Linked DNA regions of Homo sapiens: region 2 is linked to region 1. The links are contacts of gene promoters, found by promoter capture Hi-C in human tissues and cell types (Jung and others, 2019). All regions are on one chromosome and are shown on one strand. Each heading gives the region's core, a stretch centred on a gene start or on the middle of the fragment in contact. The rest is flanking DNA. Distances are from core to core; before and after follow the strand shown.

What was found. The method cuts DNA at HindIII sites, captures the fragments that hold promoters and counts their contacts. A contact is called where the count stands out against the background at its distance.
Region 2: a contact is called between a fragment that was not itself captured here and the fragment with the promoter of EFNA4 in region 1, in 1 of the 25 tissues and cell types used here (mesendoderm cells).

Annotation. Positions count from the first base shown.
Region 1 is chr1:155,062,490-155,067,934 of GRCh38, forward strand. It overlaps EFNA4 (ephrin A4), which reads left to right and starts at 1,251. Exons shown (of 4, transcript NM_005227.3): 1 at 1,251-1,447; 2 at 4,241-4,527; 3 at 4,883-4,951. The coding sequence starts at 1,335. It overlaps ADAM15 (ADAM metallopeptidase domain 15), which reads left to right. Exons shown (of 23, transcript NM_207197.3): 23 at 1-286. The coding sequence ends at 13. It overlaps EFNA4-EFNA3 (EFNA4-EFNA3 readthrough), which reads left to right and starts at 1,251. Exons shown (of 5, transcript NM_001407761.1): 1 at 1,251-1,447. The coding sequence starts at 1,335. It overlaps DCST1-AS1 (DCST1 antisense RNA 1), which reads right to left and starts at 1,502. Exons shown (of 4, transcript NR_040773.1): 1 at 1,268-1,502. It also overlaps ADAM15-EFNA4. RefSeq lists silencers at 652-741, 1,122-1,271, 1,562-1,711 and an enhancer at 2,202-2,703. The HindIII fragment of the contact is 5,150 bases long and covers 1-3,789 here.
Region 2 is chr1:155,101,550-155,107,314 of GRCh38, forward strand. No RefSeq gene overlaps it. Among named protein-coding and RNA genes, the nearest start is that of EFNA1, 23 kb to the right of the region's middle. RefSeq lists a silencer at 1,793-1,959. The HindIII fragment of the contact is 6,363 bases long and covers 24-5,765 here.

The sequences.
Region 1 (5,445 bases), core at 1-2,500:
GCTCTACCTCTGACCTCTCCGGAGGTTCCGCTGCCTCCAAGCCGGACTTAGGGCTTCAAGAGGCGGGCGTGCCCTCTGGAGTCCCCTACCATGACTGAAGGCGCCAGAGACTGGCGGTGTCTTAAGACTCCGGGCACCGCCACGCGCTGTCAAGCAACACTCTGCGGACCTGCCGGCGTAGTTGCAGCGGGGGCTTGGGGAGGGGCTGGGGGTTGGACGGGATTGAGGAAGGTCCGCACAGCCTGTCTCTGCTCAGTTGCAATAAACGTGACATCTTGGGAGCGTTCCCCAGAGTTTGTCTGCTTCTAGAACCCGGGTCGCTCCTGCTGCGGTTCCAGGTTTGGCCGCCAGAAGACGCTGCCGCCTCAGACGAGGGCGGGCTGTGTGGGGCGGGAGTACCAGAAAGGGTCGGCGTGTGTCCCCGGGATGCTCGCAGCTTCCCTCTGCCCAGACTGGGGTGGCTTTCGGCGCAATCTGTCAAGCTGTTGGACCTGCCGTCCCCACTCTGACCATTGGCTGGGAAAAGTGGATCTGGCTGATGCTCCCAGAGCCCAGGAGCCAGGGCGGAGCGGGGCGGCGGCTGCTCCCACGATCCCAAGGCCGCGCACCTGCCTCCTCCCCCTCCGCCGCCGCCACCTGAGGGATCGGGAACAAAGGTGCTTTGTACAGGCCGCAACCACCTCATTACTTCGTCTTAGGGACTGGGGCCGCGTGGGCCCCCAGCCCGGAACGAAGGTGTGGAGCGGCAAGGGACAGACGCCAATCCTAAAGTGAGCATCTAGCGCGCCACCTAAGGCTCTTTAGGGAAGGTGGTCCCAGAGCTGTGTTGTCCCTTCCGCTTGCACTGTCCCTAGATGTGCAAAGAAAACGGGGCAGTGCATGAAGGTGGTTGGACAGGCTTCATGGATCCTCGCCCGCGCCTCACTTTCCCCTATCTGGGCAAAGGTTATGTACCCTTATTTAAAATCTTCCAAACTTCTAATAAGGCAGTCTACCCTGCACTAAAGCAGACACGAAAGAGATGACCTCCCTAAAAATACTGCTGTTGGAATACGTCCTTCCTTCCCGCCCCCTCGCAGTGCGGTGCAGCCTCAGTGGAAGCTTTGGCGAACCTGGCGCGCGCTGCGGTGCACAGAGGGTTAACTGGAGTTGGCGCTGGGTGGAGAGGAGGAGACGCGCTCCCATTGGCGGAAAGTTATTCAGGGGCGGGGTCAGTGAATCTCCGTACCCCACTCCCCTTTCCGCAACTTCCCTCTTCACTTTGTACCTTTCTCTCCTCGACTGTGAAGCGGGCCGGGACCTGCCAGGCCAGACCAAACCGGACCTCGGGGGCGATGCGGCTGCTGCCCCTGCTGCGGACTGTCCTCTGGGCCGCGTTCCTCGGCTCCCCTCTGCGCGGGGGCTCCAGCCTCCGCCACGTAGTCTACTGGAACTCCAGTAACCCCAGGTAGCCGGGCCGAACCGGGCGAGCGCACAGCCAAGTCTGCGCGCTCCCGGGCTTTGCGCGCGCCCGCCACCCGCTCTTTGCGCGGCGCCGCCTGAGCCTGGCCGCGCGCCGGGGCTCCTTTGTTTGAGCCGGCGGGGGAGGGGGGAGGGGCGAGGGGCGAGGCGCGCCCTGGGTCTCCCCACAGCCCGCATGTGTTGGGGGGCAGGCAGAAGACCCCAGCCCCAAGGGTTGTCTAGGGGGTCTTGGAGCATGGAGCTGGGGGGGCCTTTGCCCGCACTCCGGGCTCCGCCCCCCTCGCTGCTCTCCTGGCGATCCCCAGCCTCCCGCAGGCTGGAGCTGTGGCTGACGAACTTGAGAGCGAGGGAGGGGGCTTTACTCTTATGAAAGAGCGTGGGTTACTCTCCTGCCCGCTGGGTCTCACCTCTGGCTCTCACTCTGTCTCCTGATCTCATTTGCTATCTCTGCTTTCATCTCTGTCTTTATTGGTCCTTCTGTTTCTTTCCAGTGTCAGCCCTGCCCTTCTAGCCGAATCACCTCTGGGCAAGTCTCGTGACCTTCCTAACCTCATTTATCTCACCTGTATAATGGGCTAATAATACCTAGTACCCTGGGAAGTCTGGCAGGGTAAGTGAGGTCATGTATGTGAAAGAGGCTCAGGCTGTACAGATATAAACTATTATTTCTTTCTCTCTCCTGAGCTGCCTGCCTTTGAACCTTAGTATATTTTACTGTTTCCATCCCCCTCCCCAAGTCTCCCTGCCTCTCCTATTTCCTATCTGTTTTTCTTTCTGATTTTCTACTTGAGACAATCTGTGACTATTCATTTCTTCACTCACTAACATTTATTTATTAAACACATACTGTGTGTGCCCGGCCCTGTGCTAGGTTGCAGGGGATTAACTATATAGATGAGAAGATCAAGACCCTGCCCTCTGGGATTCCACAGACTCTCTGGAGAACAGGCGCAGGCAGGAGAGCCTGCATAAAGACAGGTCATTACAATACCAATAACAAGTGATAAGAGCTTTTGTTGTCCTTGGACTCTGAATTCTCTATCTCTGTCACAGACCAAAGCTTCTGAATCACTTGGAGGACCTGTTAAAAATTCAGGTTTCTCACCCCCCAATCTTAAGGTTTCTGGCTCATTCATTCAATCCACAAATATTTATTGAACACTGTCCTGTGCTGGGCACTTTTCCAGGCACGGGGGATGCAGTAGAACAAAACTTACCAAGGCCCTGTCCTTGCTCAGCTTGCGTTCTAGTAAGTCTGGGCTGGCTGAGCCCAGGAATCTTCATTTCTAATCAGAACTGATACAGGTCGTCCTTGGACCACCCACTGGAGGCTTTTCCTAAGTCATGCTTCGCTGTGTTTGTGGTATGGGGGGTGGTTCATGCAGCATTCAGTACTGTGGGGAGCAGCCCCTTCCAGCCCTTCCCACCTGTGCTGGCTTCCCCAGGCAGCTCCCAAGAGGTGGGGAAGGGAGTCCTGAGAAGACTGAAGACTGGGTAGTATGTGGACTCCCCCCATGCCTGGCACTTGCTCCTCCTGGCCAAAAAAGGGAGGCACCTAGCACCCACTCCCTCATTCTTTTTTTTTTTTTTTTTTTAATTTTTAGAATTTAGAGACAGGGTCTTGCTCTGTCACCCAGGCTGTAGTGCGGTGGCATAATAGCTCACTACAGGAACTTGCGGACTCTAAGGATCCTCCCGCCTCAGCCTCCCAAGTAGCTGGGACTACAGGAGTGCACCACCACTCATGGCCTTTATTTATTTATTTATTTATTTATTTATTTATTTATTTATTTATTTTTTGAGATGGAGTCTCGCTCTGTCTCCCAGGCTGGAGTGCAGTGGCGCAATCTCGGCTCACTGCAAGCTCCGCCTCCCGGGTTCACGCCATTCTCCTGCCTCAACCTCCCAAGTAGCTGGGACTACAGGTGCCCGCCACCACGCCCGGCTAGTTTTCTTTTTATATTCTTAGTAGAGACGGGGTTTCACCGTGTTAGCCAGGATGGTCTTGATCTCCTGACCTCATGATCCGCCCGCCTCAGCCTCCCAAAGTGCTGGGATTACAAGCGTGAGCCACCGCGCCCAGCCTATTTATTTATTTATGGTAGAGACAGTCTCACCATGTTGCCCAGGCTGGTCTTGAACTCCTGGCCTCAAGCGATCCTCCCACCTCGGCCTCCCAAAGTGCTGGGATTCAGATGTGAGCCACCACACCTGGCCTCCCTCATTCTTTTTTTACCGTGACATTCTTTTCACCCTTGGGTTGAAGTCAGTCTAAAGGACAGTGTTCCTCACTTTATATCTGTTTGAGGAGACCTTTCCCAACCCCTGTTTCCACCTCTGTGTCTGCAGCTGCACTGTGTGCAACTGTACCTCCTGCCTCTCTGCCCAGCTTCTTCACAGCATCCATCCACCTGACATTGATCAAGCCTGGTGCTATACCACATTGAGTGTTGGGCACTGGAGCTAGAGAGGTGTGTGGCAGCTCCAGCCTGTAGGACAGGGTGTGGTGACCCTCCTTCTCACATCTAAGCTGTGTGGTTATGGGCACTGCAGGTCTTAGCCTCTCGGAACCTGTGAATCGATCATCTCATCCATTTCTTGCACTCTCTTTGTCTCTCAAGAGTTGTCAGTCTGGGAACCTCGGGCCTTCCTGAGCTGCTCCATCGCACATGGGTGGAGGAGAGGCTGGCAGGGGCCTCTGAGAAGGGGTGTCTCTGGCATCCATGGCCATGGCGTGGTGCCCTCCACTCCTCAGCCCACCCCTGCGTTATGCCTGCAGGTTGCTTCGAGGAGACGCCGTGGTGGAGCTGGGCCTCAACGATTACCTAGACATTGTCTGCCCCCACTACGAAGGCCCAGGGCCCCCTGAGGGCCCCGAGACGTTTGCTTTGTACATGGTGGACTGGCCAGGCTATGAGTCCTGCCAGGCAGAGGGCCCCCGGGCCTACAAGCGCTGGGTGTGCTCCCTGCCCTTTGGCCATGTTCAATTCTCAGAGAAGATTCAGCGCTTCACACCCTTCTCCCTCGGCTTTGAGTTCTTACCTGGAGAGACTTACTACTACATCTGTGAGTGGCCAAGGGCACACTGGACACCTCTTGTGTACCAGAAGGGTAGGGAGGGGGAAGGAGAGGCCTGGAAGGAGGAGGGGGCTGGGTCTCTAATGTACATCGGGTTGAGGTATGGGCTGAACTCAGGACTGAGGAGGGAAATGTCTAGAAAGGAGAAAGTAGGAGGAGCTAGGAAAGGGGGCCAGGGAGATGAGAGGACTGGATGGGGCCTGATACATGGGTGTGGCCCCAAAGTAAGGAAACGCTTTCCAGGGACCTGGAGAGAAGAAAACCTGGGAGGGTCTGAAACAGTCTGAGGCATACAAAGGGGTGACTCCCTGTGCTAACTTTTTCCCACTTTCCCACTACCCAGCGGTGCCCACTCCAGAGAGTTCTGGCCAGTGCTTGAGGCTCCAGGTGTCTGTCTGCTGCAAGGAGAGGAGTAAGTGGGTTGGGAGCATGGACCCTACTGGCTAATGTGGGGCCTTGGGAAGGAGGGAAGGAGTGAGAAGAATCTAGGAGGATCAGACTCCAGGGGTCCTGGTGAAGCTTCAAGCTGTGGTCTCTTCTCCCCATTTAGCCTTGAGGGAGCTTCTACTGCACCATCCTCTCCCCACTTCTGTTTTGTTTTGTTTTGGTTTTAGACGGAGTCTCGCTCTGTTGCCCAGGCTGGAGTGCAGTGGCTCGATCTCAGCTCACTGCAAGCTCCGCCTCTCTGGTTCACGCCATTCTCCTGCCTCAGCCTCCGGAGTAGCTGGGACTACAGGCACCCGCCACCACACCCGGCTAATTTTTTGTATTTTTAGTAGAGATGGGGTTTCACCGTGTTAGCCAGGATGGTCTCGATCTCCTGACCTTGTGATCTGCCCACCTCAGCCTCCCAAAGTGCTGAGATTACAGGCATGAGCCACCACCCCCAGCTCCCCCACTTCTTTT
Region 2 (5,765 bases), core at 1,955-4,454, 41 kb after region 1:
GACAGGGTTTCACCGTGTTAGCCAGGGTGGTCTCAATCTCCTGACCTCATGATCCGCCCACCTCGGCCTCCCAAAGTGCTGAGATTACAGGTGTGAGCCACCGTGCCCGGCCTTACCTTTATATTTCTAAATAAGATGCTTGCACTGCTGTTTTTCTCTTTTTTCTTTTTCTTTATTCAATGTTAGACCTGCTCTATCGACTTCCTCTCATGAAACATGAGGATTCAGTTCTCTGTGTCCTGCCTCTCAATGCACAGAAACACATACACTGCCCTCCCAATAGAGTCAAATCCAAAATTTTTGGTTAAATCAATATTTAGCATTTAGATGGTTATTAAACTGTGACAATTGTTCACAATTGACTCACATAATATACTATGATTCATTCTAGTTCTTTAAAAACTTTTTCTTTTCCTTGGAATTAATAACTAACTGGAAAGACCAATAACCCAATAGAGAAATGGCCAAAGAGGCCGGGAGCAGTGGCTCACGCCTGTAATCCTACCAATTTGGGAGGCCGAGGTGGGCGGATCACAAGGTCAGGAGTTTGAGACCAGCCTGGCCAATATGATGAAACCCCGTATCTACTAAAAATACAAAAAAGTTCTCCAGGCATGGTGGGGCACGCCTGTAATCCCAGCTATTCGGGAGGCCGAGGCAGGAGAATTGCTTGAACCTGGGAGGCAGAGGTTGCAGTGAGCCGAGATTGCGCCACTGCACTCCAGCCTGGGTAACAGAGTGAGACTGTTTCAAAAAAAAAAGAGAAATGACCAAAGAAAATGAACAGTTTACTGAAAGGAAATGCAAGTGGCTTTTAAATGTTTAAAAGGATGTTCATTCTCACACATAAGAGAAATGAAAATTAAAACCACACCAAGATAGCACTTCTCATTTATCAGCTTGGCAAAAATCCAAAGGTTTACAACACAGTCTGTTGACGTGGCTTTAGGGAACAGGCATTTTCATACATTGCCAGTGGGAGGGCAAAGCTCTATCACTCACATGGAAGGGGATTTGGAGATACCAAGCAAAATGACAAATGCATTTACCCTTTAACCTAGCAATCCTCCTTCTGGGAATTTGTCCGGCAGCTATGTCTATGCACATTTGAAACGAAGTAGGTATATAGTTATTCATTGTGGCATTCACTGACAATAGTAAAGTATTGGAAACAACCCAAGTGTCCTATGGAGGACTGGCTAAATACACTACTGTACATCCACGCAATGGAATAAGCCACTAGACAAAGGAGTAAGGAATTTCTCCAAGAAAGATCTCCGGGATGTATTGTATGTATGTATTTTTTGTTTGTTTTTTGTTTTGTTTTGTTTTTGATACGGAGTCTTGCTCTGTCGTCCAGGCTGGAGTGCAGTGGCACGATCTCGGCTCACTGTGAGCTCCGCCTCCCAAGTTCACGCCATTCTCCTGCCTCAGCCTCCCGAGTAGCTGGGACTACAGGCGCCTGCCACCACGCCAGGCTAATTTTTTGTATTTTTAGTAGAGATGGGGTTTCACCGTGTTAGCCAGGATGGTCTCGATCTCCTGACCTTGTGATCCCCTGCCTCGGCCTCCCAAAGTGCTGGGATTACAGGCGTGAGCCACCGCACCCGGCTTTTTGTTTTTTTCTTGAGATGGAGTCTCGCTCTGTGGCCCAGGCTGGAATGCAGTGGTGCGATCTTGGCTCACTGCAACCTCCACCTCCCGTGTTCAAGCGATTCTCCTTCCTCAGCCTCTAGAGTAGCTGGGACTACAGGCGTGCGCCACCACGCTCGGCTAATTTTTGTATTTTTAGTAGAGGTGGGTTTTCACCATGTTGGCCAGGCTGTTCTCGGAACTCCTGTCTTAAGGCGATCCACTCACCTTAGCCTCCAAAAGTGCTAGGATTACAGGCATGAGCCACCGCGCCCGGCACTAACCTCATTCTTGATTGTTAGATTAGCTGGGGGTAGAATTCTAAGTTGGAAAACATTTTCCCTCAGAAGTTCAAGGTCACTGATTCAGCTATCCCAGTTTCTAGCGCTGCTATTGAGAAATCCAAGTCAAAACAGATTCCCGATCCTGTGTATGAATACTAATCTTTATCACTCATTCTAAATTTTCAGTTCTTAGAAAGTTTCTTGGCCAGGCGCAGTGGCTCACGCCTGTAATGGCAGCACTTTGGGAGGCCAAGGCAGGTGGGTCACCTGAGGTCAGGAGTTCAAGACCAGCCTGGCCAATATGGCAAAACCTCATCTCTACTGAAAATACAAAAATTAGCCAGGTGTGATGGCAGGCGCCTGTAGTCCCAACTACTTGGGAGGCTAAAGCAGGAGAATTGCTTGAACGCAGGAGGCAGAGGTTGCAGTGAGCTGAGATCATGCCACTGCACTCCCGCCTGGGCAACAGAGCAAGACTCCTTATTAAGAAAAGAAAGAGAGAGAGAGAGAGAGGAGAGAGAGAGAGAGAAAGGGAGGGAGGGAGGAGGGAGGAAGGGAGGAAAAGAAAGGAGGAAATGGAGGAAGAAAGCGTTTTGTATTATTTCTTGGATAATTTCCTCCCGTCTCCTCTCTTTTATAGTTGAATGTTCAGTCTCCTGGGCTGATTCTCTAATTTTTCTATTTTTCTCCTTTGTTCCCCAACTCTTTGTCTAATTATTCTGCTTTCTCAGAGATTTCCTCAGACTTGCCATTCCTTTGGTTAATTGTTTTTACTTACCTATATTTAATTTCCGAGTAGTTTAGTTTTTTCGAGACAGGGTCTCACTCTGTGGCCCAGGCTGGAGTGCAGTGGCACAATCTTGGTTCACTGCAACCTCCACCTCCCAGGCTCAAGTTAATTCTCCTCCCTCAGCTTCCTGAGCGGCTGGGATTACAGGCGTGCGCCACCATGCCCAGCTAATTTTTGTATTTTTAGTAGAGAAGGCAGTACACTATGTTGGCCAGGCTGGTCTTGATCTCCAGGCCTCAAGTAATCCACCCATCTCTGCCTCCCAAAGTGCTGGGATTACAGGCATGAGCCACTGAGCCTGGCCTTATTTTATTTTTTAATATAACCTGGTTCTCATTTTATGAATAATCTCTTACCTCTCTAAAAATACTAATTGCCATTTTAAAGGTTTTCTTCTACTCCCTGAATGATTCCTAGTTCCCTTTGATTTCTTTTTCTCTGTGCTTTGGTCTGTTTTTCCCCTTGGTGGCTCTCCATTCACATTTCTGCATGAAGCAGGACAGAGTGCTGTTGGGTGACTGTGTACACCTGGGTTTCGAAGGCACACTCTTCGGAATGTAAGCTCCTCAAGGTGAGGATCTACAGCAGTTTTGTTTACAGATAGAGTCCCAGCACCTAGAATGTTTTCTAGCGCATAGCAGGTGTTCAATAGTAGGTGCAGAAGGGAGTAAGTGTGGAAGGCAAGAATAAAAGGACATCTAGTGGCTTCTCATTTGTTCTAAATGTAGATCTTTGGCCTGGGACCATTCTCTGGAAGTTTTCCAGAAGAGTCCTCTAATCTTATTCCTGGAAGTGTAAACCTGGCTCTCAGGAAACAGTTAGGGGGAAGGGAGCAGCATACAGGCTGCCATTTTTATGTATCTGCTCCTCAAAGCCACTCTGTTTGGTGTTCCTGAGAATCAGCAATGCCCTTCCTGTTTTTTAAGATCCTACTTTGTGCTCAGAACCTTTTTCTGGATATGTTCTCTACAGTATGGAACAAAGTCCCTGCCTTATGAAGCTTATAGTCAGCTGGGGAGAAACAAAATAGAAAAGATTAGATAGATAGATAGATGATAGATAGATAGATAGATAGATAGATAGATAGATAGATAGATAGATAGGATAGGGCCGGGCATGGCGGCTCACACCTGTAATCCCAGCATTTTGGGAGACCAAGGCAGGTGGATCACTTGAGGTCAGGAGTTCAAGACCAGCCTGGTGAATATGGTGAAACCCCCGTCTCTACTAAAAATGCAAACATTAGCCGGGCTTGGTGGCACATGCCTGTAGTCCCAGCTACTCAGGAGGCTGAGGCAGGAGAATCGCTTGAATCTGGGAGGCAGAGGTTGCAGTGAGCCAAGAAAAAAAAAGAGGATAGAGTAAGAGGCGTGTATGTCTGTTTGTCTGCGTGTGTGTGTGTGAGCGCGCTCCATTGTGCATGCTGTAGCCATCAGGAAAGACTCTCACTGGAGGGAACATTTGATTGAGCCAAATTATACATTGGAGGAGAGTTTTGCTTCCTCTGTTTCAAAGTACAAATTCCCTGAGGCTGGAGCATGGCCAGGGAGGTCGAGGAGCATGAAGAAGCCCAGTGTGGCTGGAGAATGGTGTGTAAGGAGGGAAATGGATTGAGAAATGGTGGAGGCGGGCGCCAGGGGATTGGGAGAACACAGTGTGCATCTGAATTTCACTGTAAACATGACTGGGAGCCACTGGAGGGTTTGGCCAGGGGAGCACAGATAAGAGTCACACTTTAAAGGATCTCTTGAGGCCAGGTGTGATGGCTCAACACTTTGTAATTCTGCTAGGAGGACTGCTTGAGGCCAGGAGTTTGAGACCAGTCTGGTAACATAGTGAGAGCTTTTCTCTACAAAAAAAAAAAAAAATTAGCCTGGTGTGGTGGTACGTACCTGTAGTCCTAGCTTCTAGGGAGGCTGAGGTGGGAGCATCACTGGAGCCCAAGAGTTCCAGGTTACAGTGAGCTGTGATTATGCCACTGCACTGTAGCATCAACACAGCAAGACCCTGTCTCTTTAAATTAAATTAAATTAAAGGATCTCTCAACTGTGTGTGAAGAATAGGACTAGGCCAGGCATGCCTGTAATCCCAGCACTTTGGGAGGCCAAGGCAGGGGGATCACTTGAGGTCAGGAGTTTGTGACCAGCCTGGCCAATGTGGTGAAACCCCGTCTCTACTAAAAATACAAAAATTAGGCCGGGTGTGGTGGCTCACACCTGTAATCCCAGCACTTTGGGAGGCCAAGGCGGGTGGATCACCTGAGGTCAGGAGTTCAAGACCACCCTGGCCAACATGGTGAAACCCTGTATCTACTAAAAATACAAAAAAATTAGCTGGGCGTGGTGGTGTGCACCTGTAATTCCAGCTACTTGGGAGGCTGAGGAAGGAGAATTGTATGAACCTGGAAAGCAGAGGTTGCAGTGAGCTGAGATTGTGCCATTGCACTCCAGCCTGGGCAACAAGAGTGAAACTTTGTGTCAAAAAGCAAAACAAAACAAAACAAAACAAAAATTAGGCGGGCATGGTGGCATGCGCCTGTAATCCTAGCTACTCGGGAGGGTGAAGAAGGAGAATTGCTTGAACCTGGGAGGCGGAGGTTGCAGTGAGCCGAGATCACGCCATTGCACTCCAGCCTGGGCAACAGAATGAGACCTTGCCTCTAAAAACAATTTTTTAAAGTAAAAATAAAAAGAAATTAGAATGGGAATAAAAAGAGACAAAAGAAGGCTGAGAGGAAGAGACAGCCAGCCTAACGGGGAGGAAGGCCACGCCCACCCCAGGTGCATCACTAGCTGCACCCAGGCCTGCTTGTCACAGCCACTTCTTTCTCTCCCGGGAACTGAATGGGCTTGACCATCCTGCATTTGTCTAACTTTGAAGCCAAGCAAGGAAGTAACATTAATATGACAAGTGAGGTCTGAACAACAGAAGGAGCTGCATTTCCATTCGGTGGCCATAAACCTATCCTGCCCCCAACCCCAGGAGTGGGGGATCTTCATGCCCAGGTCCTCTGTGTCCAGGTGAAGCACATCCACGGGGATCAGGTATCAGAAAGGGCT